Linked DNA regions of Homo sapiens: region 2 is linked to region 1. Evidence: promoter capture Hi-C in 16 types of primary human blood cells and fetal thymus (Javierre and others, 2016). All regions are on one chromosome and are shown on one strand. Each heading gives the region's core, a stretch centred on a gene start or on the middle of the fragment in contact. The rest is flanking DNA. Distances are from core to core; before and after follow the strand shown. Region 1 overlaps LOC105371777 (a long non-coding RNA gene). Region 2 holds the start of KRT34 (keratin 34).

Region 1 (4,227 bases), core at 270-2,769:
GAAATGTAGTTATAATTAAGCTTTAACCAGGCTGCACTTTGACCCACTTCCTTGTAACTAAACATCACATAACCTTAGATTCTGACCATTTGCATCCCCATTGTTCCTGTAGATAGAAATTCTAATGTTAGAACCATGAGGCTTTTGTTTAAGAATTGCTTAAACGGATCCTGAATTACTGTGGAACTGCTAACGCCAACCAATTTAAAGACTCCCACAGACAAACCAAATGAGCATGAGAGTACAGTTTCTTTCTCTCCCTGTCCTGGGACTTCACCCTGTACTCTTCAACTAATCAACAATCTCTATGCTTTGGCTCACTCCAAAACTCTTAAAAACCCTCGCCCCAGAGTCCCCGGGAAGATGGATTTGGGGTTTTCTCTTTTCTCCTCATTTGTTGGCCTTACCATTAAACCTCTGTCTCTGTTGCAACCTGGTGCCTCTGGGTATTGACTTGCTGTGAACATCCAGGCAATGAACCTATTACAGCTACAGAATGAATACACAAATAAATGCATATGTGATGCCCCACTTGTATACATAAATAAGCCAGCGGAGAAAACCAAACACCACATGTTCTCACTCATAAATGGAAGTTGAACAATGAGAACATGTGGACACAGGGAGGGGAGCATCACACACCGGGGCCTGTCGGGGAGTGAGGGACTAGGGGAGGGATAACATTAAGGAGAAATACCTAATGTAGATGATGGGTTGATGGGTGCAGCAAACCACCATGGCACGTGTATGCCTATGTTACAAATCTGCACGTTCTGCACATGTATCTCAGAACTTAAAGTATAATAATAAAAAATAAAAATTACACTGCAACTTGTCAAAAAAGTTATACTTGTTGCTCTGTTTATTTGAAACGTGAAATTGCAGCCTGACGTGATTTCTTTAAAATCCCATGTTACTTGCAAATAAATGAAATATTTCAAAATGAGTACACTTAGCAGAAACTTAGTAGTGTATGTATAACTTCAGGAGATCAATAAGTGCAAGTCAGTAACTAAAATGACCATATTCTTACCAACCAAGGTCATAGCGTCGTGTGTTTACGGTGTTTTTAAAGATTTCAAAATGCCGGGCTAATGTGATTATATGTGATATTATTGTTGTCTTTTTGTACAAAGTGAGTCATCTCAAGTTGAGTAACTTGTTCTGAGTAAGATAATGACTCACTGAGAAAGCCTGAAATACCATCTAAATGGCTTCTATTAGAGCCCACTGCTGTCTGTGGACTGTTTTATCAGTGTGATTTATTTACAGGTCTGCTTCTAAATTGCGTATTTGTTCCATCATTTTGAAGAAGAGTTGCATTTCATTAAGAATATGTACATAGTGAAAAAACAATGACATATTTTAGCAACTAGAATTCGCAATGAATTTAATTCTAAAGAAGAGTAGTATGCAGAATTTTTTTCCTGAAAAAGCTTGATGCTCATGTTTTTACAGTCTATAAAGTTAAAATATCTATTCTGAGTTTTGCAAACAATTTATTGCATGTGTGTAAAGCATTGCATTTATTTATAATTCTGCTATATTATGCTAATTTAAGAAATAAACCCTAAAATCATGCATGACAATTCCCAAGAATGCTAAGCTTTTTTTGAGACGGAGTCTCACTCTGTCGCCCAGGCTGGAATGCAGTGGTGCGATCTCAGCTCACTGCAAGCTCTGCCTCCCGGGTTCACACCATTCTCCCGCCTCAGCCTCCCAAGTAGCTGGGACTACAGGTGCCCGCCACCACGCCCGGATAATTTTCTGTATTTTTAGTAGAGACAGGGTTTCTCTGTGTTAGCCAGGATGGTCTCAATCTCCTGACCTCATGATCTGCCCGCTTCGGCCTCCCAAAGTTCTGGGATTATAGGCGTGAGCCACTGCTCCCAGCCCCAGTTTTTCTTAATTTATTTTATATACTCTGTATTTAGTTGTAGAATCCTCCCCTTCAATTTGAGCAGCTACATTAATATTAGCATTTTAGACAGGCACCGTGGTTTGCACCTTTCATCAGGCATCTGACATTTGACTAAAATGGCAGTAGTCTGAGGTGGGAGGATCACTTGAGCCCAGGAATTTGAGGCTGCAGTGAGCTATGAGCACACCATTGCACTACAGCCTGGGTGACAGAGAGCGACCCCATCTCTGAAGAAAGCACATCTTATAGTTTCAAAGTGCTTTATGGCTTGTTAAGCTCCTTCACAGAAGTTGGCTTATTTGATGCTCACAACTTGTGATAGAGGGAAGATAAATATTATTCCCCCCTCCCCATATGTTGGGTGAGAAAAGTGCACTTTTTTTTTTTACAAAAGTGGAATAATTTAGGATTGTGCATGAAGGGAAGAAAAAGAATAAATATGTCTGGGGGAAATATGTAAACCAGTTCATTTCTTTAGTTGTAGAGAGACTTTTTTTCTTTGCATAATAATAGCAGGTAATATTTAGTGCTTACTATATGCCAAGTGTGAATTGACCCATAGAATTCTCATAATAGGGCGTGAAGCAGGTATCCTTTTTTGCCTTGATTTTAGGGAACAGAGAACTATGGAACAGAGAGGTAAGTAAAACCATTAGAAAGTGCCAGAGCTGGGACCCAAACTCAGGCCTTTGAACTGTGCTTTTAACCTCTATGCTCAGTGGTGTACTGGTGTAAAACAGTTTTCTGGGAAATACATTTTAAAAGCCCAAGTTCCATTTGTGTAAATACTCCCATCATGGCCAATTTCAAGCTGCCCATGGTTTAATAGCCAGCTTGGAAAATTCCTGAATATTTACTGATCAGTGATTAAGAGCCAGCTTGCCCTAGGACACCTTTGACGATCCTACATGGCCTCTCTGCGCCTGTGGACAGTATCATCTGAAGAAAGAATATTCAATTATTATTTTAAAATTGACTATTGAGTTAATATTTACTTACAATGAAATATATTCGTTTTAAATGTGCAGTTTGAAGAGCCTTGCTAAATGGACCCATCACCACAGTCAAGATACGGAACACTTCCATCGGTCCCAAAGGTTCTCAGGTGCCCCTTCCAGGTTAACCAGTTAATTCTCACTCCTCCCACACCTTTCAGCTCAGGTGACCACTGAGCTTATTTCTGTCACTATAGATGAGATTTTATCTTTCTGAAAGTTTCATATAAATGGAATCATACAGTATGTATTCTTTTGTGTCTGGTTTCTTTAGCTCAGCACAATCTTGGATTCAGTTCCAAGATTTAAGAAACATTTACTACCCCATAAAAAAATCATTTACTCAGCTATATGATTAAGAATTTCATTTTCATTTGATATTTGAGTATGTTTTTAAAGCCTGAGTAGTTATTGATTGGCTGGTTTTCTTAACTCTAAATAATTGCTAACTTTCTTTTTCACTTTATGCCTTGTAGAACTGCCTCCTTACTGGTGAACTTTTTGGAAACTAATTATTAGTTAAATAAGACAATTTTAATTTGCTAAGTTGATCGTTGTAAAAGGTTTGCTTTTTTTCTTCTTTCTTGTTTTAAAAGATAAACCTTCTAGTATCAATACATCTCAAGTGGCTTGAACACACAGGCTTAGCTTATTTTTATTTTATTTTATTTTATTTTTTGAGACGGAATCTTGCTCTGTTGCCCAGGCTGGAGTGCAGTGGTGTGATCTTGGCTCACTGCAACCTCCGCCTCCTGGGTTCAAGCTATTCTCCTGCCTCAGCCTCCCTAGTAGCTGGGACTACAGGCGCACGCCACCACTCCTGGCTAATTTTTGTATTTTTAGTAGAGATAGGGTTTCGCCATGTTAGCCAGGCTGGTCTCGAACTCCTGACCTCAAGTGACCCACCTGCCTTGGCCTCCCAAAGTGCTGGGATTACAGGCATGAGCCACCGCGCCCAGCCAGGTTAGTTTATTTTAAAGTTCATTTCTTGAGACTCCAGAAGATGGCACTCTTACAAAGCCTAAAGAAATAAAGCTTTGGCTTTGTTTTTCTACGTGGTTGTTTTTCTAGGTGGTTCCTTCCTGCTGTGACCCATTTGCAAAGCCATTTGTTTGGGAGAATAACATTTATTTTTTTTTCTGATTATCAGAGTCATATATGCTGTTTGTTAAACATTTTAATAAAGGTATTCTTCAAACCCCTTGCTAATCCCCAAGAGATAACTACTATAACAGTTCAGTATATATACAGTATTTTCCAGACCTTCCACTAGCTTTTACACACAACATATGCATATCAAAGTAAAAATTT
Region 2 (4,379 bases), core at 1,827-4,326, 530 kb after region 1:
TCACAGGATTACAAGGAAGTCACAAGCTCCAAGAGCTAAGGAGAGTGTGTGGCCCCAAGCACATCCCCGGGACTCTGCCTCCCAAGTTCCCATCGCTCACCAGCAGGTCTGAACAATACACACCAGGTTGTGCTGGGCCTGCAGCTCGATCTCCAGGGCGTTGACTGTGCGTCTCAGCTCGATGATCTCCGCCTGGCAGGACTGCAGCTGCTCTGAGCTGGATACCACCTGCTTGTTCAGCTCCTCGGTCTGAAACACCCAAGTGGGGAAAGGATCAGACCCTGTCTCCAGGGCCCTGGGGCACCTCGGGTCCTGAGTGGCCATGTGCTTAGATGCCCACCTGCGTGGCGAACCATTGCTCCACTTCCCTGCGGTTAATTTCCACCAGAGCCTCATACTGACTCCTGGTCTCGTTCAGGACCTGGTTCAGGTCCACAGTGGGGGCAGTGTCCACCTCCACGTTGAGGCGGTCTCCAAGCTGGGAGCGCAGGGTGTTAACCTCCTGTTGGAGAAAAGGGAAACAATGAACCTACGGCAATGGATCTGCCATTTTCCTGCTCCAGGGAAATGAGCACAATACTGCCCAAAAAGCACTAAAAGGAATATTCTGATCATTCCCAAAGAGTGACACACACATTTTATAGCAATAAACTCCAACAGGGATCACATCAATTGCTGTCCCATGGAAGATGTGCCATCTTCCTGCTCTGGGAAAATGAGCTTGATGCTGCCCAGAAAGCACTAAAAGGGGCCGGGCACAGTGGCTCAAGCCTGTAATCCCAGCACTTTGGGAGGCAGAGGCAGGTGGATCACGAAGTCAGGAGATCGAAACCATCCTAGCCAACATGGTGAAACCCCATCTCTACTAACAATACAAAAATTAGCTGGGCGTGGTGGCATGTGCCTGTAATCCCAGCTACTCAGGAGGCTGAGGCAAGTGAATCACTTGAACCAGGGAGTCGGATGTTACAGTGAGCCTAGATCACGCCACTGCACTCCAGCCTGGTGACAGAGCATGACTCCGTCAAAAAAAAAAAAGCACTAAAAGGAAGATTCTGATCATTCCCAAAGAGTGACACACACATTTTATAGCAATAAACTCCAACAGGGATCACGTCAATTGTTGTCCCATAGAAACGGAAACAACCTCACACCTTCTACAAGACTAAGTCTAAACTCCTTGGCATATGCAAGTCCTTCCTCGCTTCCCATCACATCTTCACTTTCATCCCTTGGAGGTACTGCATGCCCAGCCATACCCAGATACACCCTGCCCTGCCACTTCTGTGTCTTTGTTCAACCTCTTCCCTCAGACTGAAACACCCAAGTACTGGAATCCTCCTCTTTGCATCTGAGAAGAGTTCCCTATCTCCTCTTGGGCAGCCTGGATTATTTCTAGAGCATACTGCTTGTACATCTCATATGGTACTTGTTTCACTCTGTCTTGTTTATATCACTGTGTTTATATGACTGTCTTTCTATACTAGACTGTGAGCTCTTTTAAGAAAAGGGCCATGTCTTATTTCTTTTTTGTCCCTCCATCTCCACCACCAAATTCAGGACCTAGCAGTGATCAGCAGAGAGCAGGGCTCAATGAATGATGTCCCTCCTCAGTAATTCCAACACCTGCCTAACCCTCACCCAGCCGCTGAAGAATGAGCAGCTCACTCCACTCCTTGATATGGATGTAGCACCGTCACTCTCTGAGAACATCTTGAGTTCCTCAGAGAAGGGTCCCAGACCAGGGATCCAGACAGTAATCCTCTCCTGATTCCCAGTGCTAGTAGCTTAGTTCTGAGGCCTGCTTTTGTGAATTTGTTTCATACCTCCTCATGGTTCTTCTTCAAGCAGATCAGCTCCTCCCTCAGGGACTCCACCTGGGACTCCAGGTCAGACTTGCAGAGGGTCAGCTCATCCAGGATCCTGCGTATGCTGTTGATGTCCGACTCCACCAACAGCCTCAGGGACTGCTCCGTCTGGTACCTGCACGTGTCGGAGTGGGAGGATAAGTCAGGAAAGAAAACCACCTTCCCCTCTCATGTGTTGTTTGGGTAGAATTGGCCTGAATCTTCTTGAACTTACAGTTTTCTGCCTCTTCTCTTCCATATGCTTCAGTCAAGCTGTCCATGGATAGGCTGAAGAGGTTCCCTGACTCACCTAACACCACGAGGAGCCCACAGGCACACATGAGATGAAGTCTCTCACTGTGTTCTCGGTTTTGTTAGCTAATATACCACCAAATCAATTCCCAAAGAACAATTCATTTCAATCTCTGAATTTTGTGGTTTAAGAAACACTTCCAAAAAAAACCAGTATAGACCAAAGAGCAGGCAGCACATGAGTCTAGTTCCCTATTTGAAACTAATTTTACATAACCAGCCCTAGGAGGAGAAATAGAGAGAAATGGCTTTCTCCTCTCTTCCAGGCAATAGTAGGTCCCTAGGGCCATGAAAGAACCATAGGGACCTTGAAGTTCAACATACTTGCTTCTGAAGTCGTCAGAGGCCAGCTTGGCATTGTCAATGTTCACCACCAGCCTGGCATTCTCAGCCTTGGCACACAGAATCTGAAAAGAAATTTCTCTCATGAGGTACACTTGAACTTGAAAATGTCTTACTGTTCAAAGAGAGCCAGCTGCTGCTGGCCCCCCATATGGCCAACCCCCTCACCTTCTGCTGGAGCTCCTCAATGGTCTTGAAGTAGGACTGGTAGCTGGGGCACAGCAAGGGCTCCTGCTGCTGGGACCGCTCCTGGATGAGTTTCTCCAGCTCCGCGTTGTCCCGCTCCAGCTGACGCACCTTCTCCAGGTAGCTGGCCAGGCGGTCGTTCAGGAACTGCATAGTCTCCTTCTCGCTGCCATTGAAGGAGCCCTCACAGAACCAGTTGCAGTTGCTCACATTGGCGGGGATGTTGCAGGCCCCAGGCAGGGTGTAGCCGTGGCAGCTGGGGGGCACGCAGGGCCGGGAGGAGCAGCTGGTGCGGCAGCCCAGGCTGGGCAGGCAACAACTGTAAGACATGGTGCTGGAACAGGTAATGGAAAAGCAGGTAAGCTGCTGGAGGTGGATGTGGGCAGGTTTGAGTCTCTCCTTCCTCTGCAGTCCTTTTATACCATTAATTGTGGGTGGGGGCTTGGCATACAGCATAGTTTCCTTTCCTAATGCTTCAGCTAATTTTTCTCCAAAATATGCTAGTTAGATGCTTCTAAAGAGTCCCCCCTCAACCCATAAAATTATTCCATTCAGCTTATGTCACACCAGGCTCTTCCTGGGTGCTAGTGGTTGGTGAAATCAGAGTTTCATCAGATGGCTTCATAGGAGATAGAATCATCACAGCCCCAAAAGGCTGTCTGCATTACTCAGAGGGGAGGACAGCCAGGGACATGGGGTGGAGTTGTTTGGGAATCAGGGATTCCTCACCCAGGAGTTTCCGCCACTGTTCTTTCTCCCCAGAGAGAGAGCTCTGAGAGAGAGCTTTGAGAGTTACTCTTCCAAGTAGCTCTTTCCTCCCACATTCATCCATGTTTCAGCATTCAATTTGTTTTTATAGCAGAAACTCAACCTGTATTCGCCGAAATGATCCTGAGCCTTACTATTCGTTGGGGTTTAGGGAACTTGCCAACACATGGAGCAACTGAAAACAATGGCATGTTCATGGTTGAGAAATGAGAAAGTAAAATGGAAACCAATGGAATGGATGGGAGTATACCTAAAAGAGGGCATCTGCAAATGGCAGCCCACACGTCAAGTTTACCCTGCTGAATTTTTGTAAATAAAGTTTTTGTTTGTTTGTTTTCTGTTTTTTTTTTTTTGAGACAGAGTCTCACTCTGTCGCCCAGGCTGGAGTGCAGTGGCACGATCTCGGCTCACTGCAACCTCCACCTCCCGGGTTCAAGCAATTATCTGCCTCAGCCCCCCGAGTAGCTGGGATTACAGGTGCCCGCCACCACACCCGGCTAATTTTTGTGTTTTTAGCAGAAATGGGGTTTCACCATGTTGGCCAGGCTGCTCTTGAACTCCTGAACTCGTGATCCGCCCGCCTCGGCCTCCCAAAGTGCTGGGATTACAGGCGTGAGCCAATGCGTCCGGCAGTAAATAAAGTTTTAATGGAACACAGCCATGCCCATTTGTTTAGCTATTGTATATGGCTGCTTTTGTGCTACAGTGGCAGAGTTGTGTAGTTGTGACAGAGACTATAGTGTCCACAAAGCCCTAAAATTAAAAAATTTGCCAACTTGTACTAAAGCAACAGCCTCTCTAAAGATGAGCAAGAGTAGAAATATCTAGAAGAAAAAATATGCTGGAAACAGTCTGGAGCAGTGAGAGTTCAGATGGCAGCACTGAAGCATGAATATGAAGCATAATACTGCAGACTCACCAAGA

The links. The method cuts DNA at HindIII sites, captures the fragments that hold promoters and counts their contacts. A CHiCAGO score of 5 or more calls a contact.
Region 2: a contact is called between the fragment with the promoter of KRT34 here and a fragment that was not itself captured in region 1, in 3 of 17 cell types (M1 macrophages, naive B cells and endothelial precursors). The highest score is 6.4, in M1 macrophages.

The regions. Positions count from the first base shown.
Region 1 is chr17:40,853,248-40,857,474 of GRCh38, forward strand. All of the region lies in intron 1 of LOC105371777 (a long non-coding RNA gene), which reads left to right. Among named protein-coding and RNA genes, the nearest start is that of KRT12, 12 kb to the right of the region's middle. RefSeq lists an enhancer at 3,750-4,044. The HindIII fragment of the contact is 170 bases long and covers 1,435-1,604 here.
Region 2 is chr17:41,379,230-41,383,608 of GRCh38, forward strand. It overlaps KRT34 (keratin 34), which reads right to left and starts at 3,077. Exons shown (of 7, transcript NM_001386014.1): 1 at 2,670-3,077; 2 at 2,484-2,566; 3 at 1,827-1,983; 4 at 341-502; 5 at 124-249. The coding sequence starts at 3,017. RefSeq lists an enhancer at 2,070-3,269. The HindIII fragment of the contact is 8,651 bases long and covers 1-4,379 here.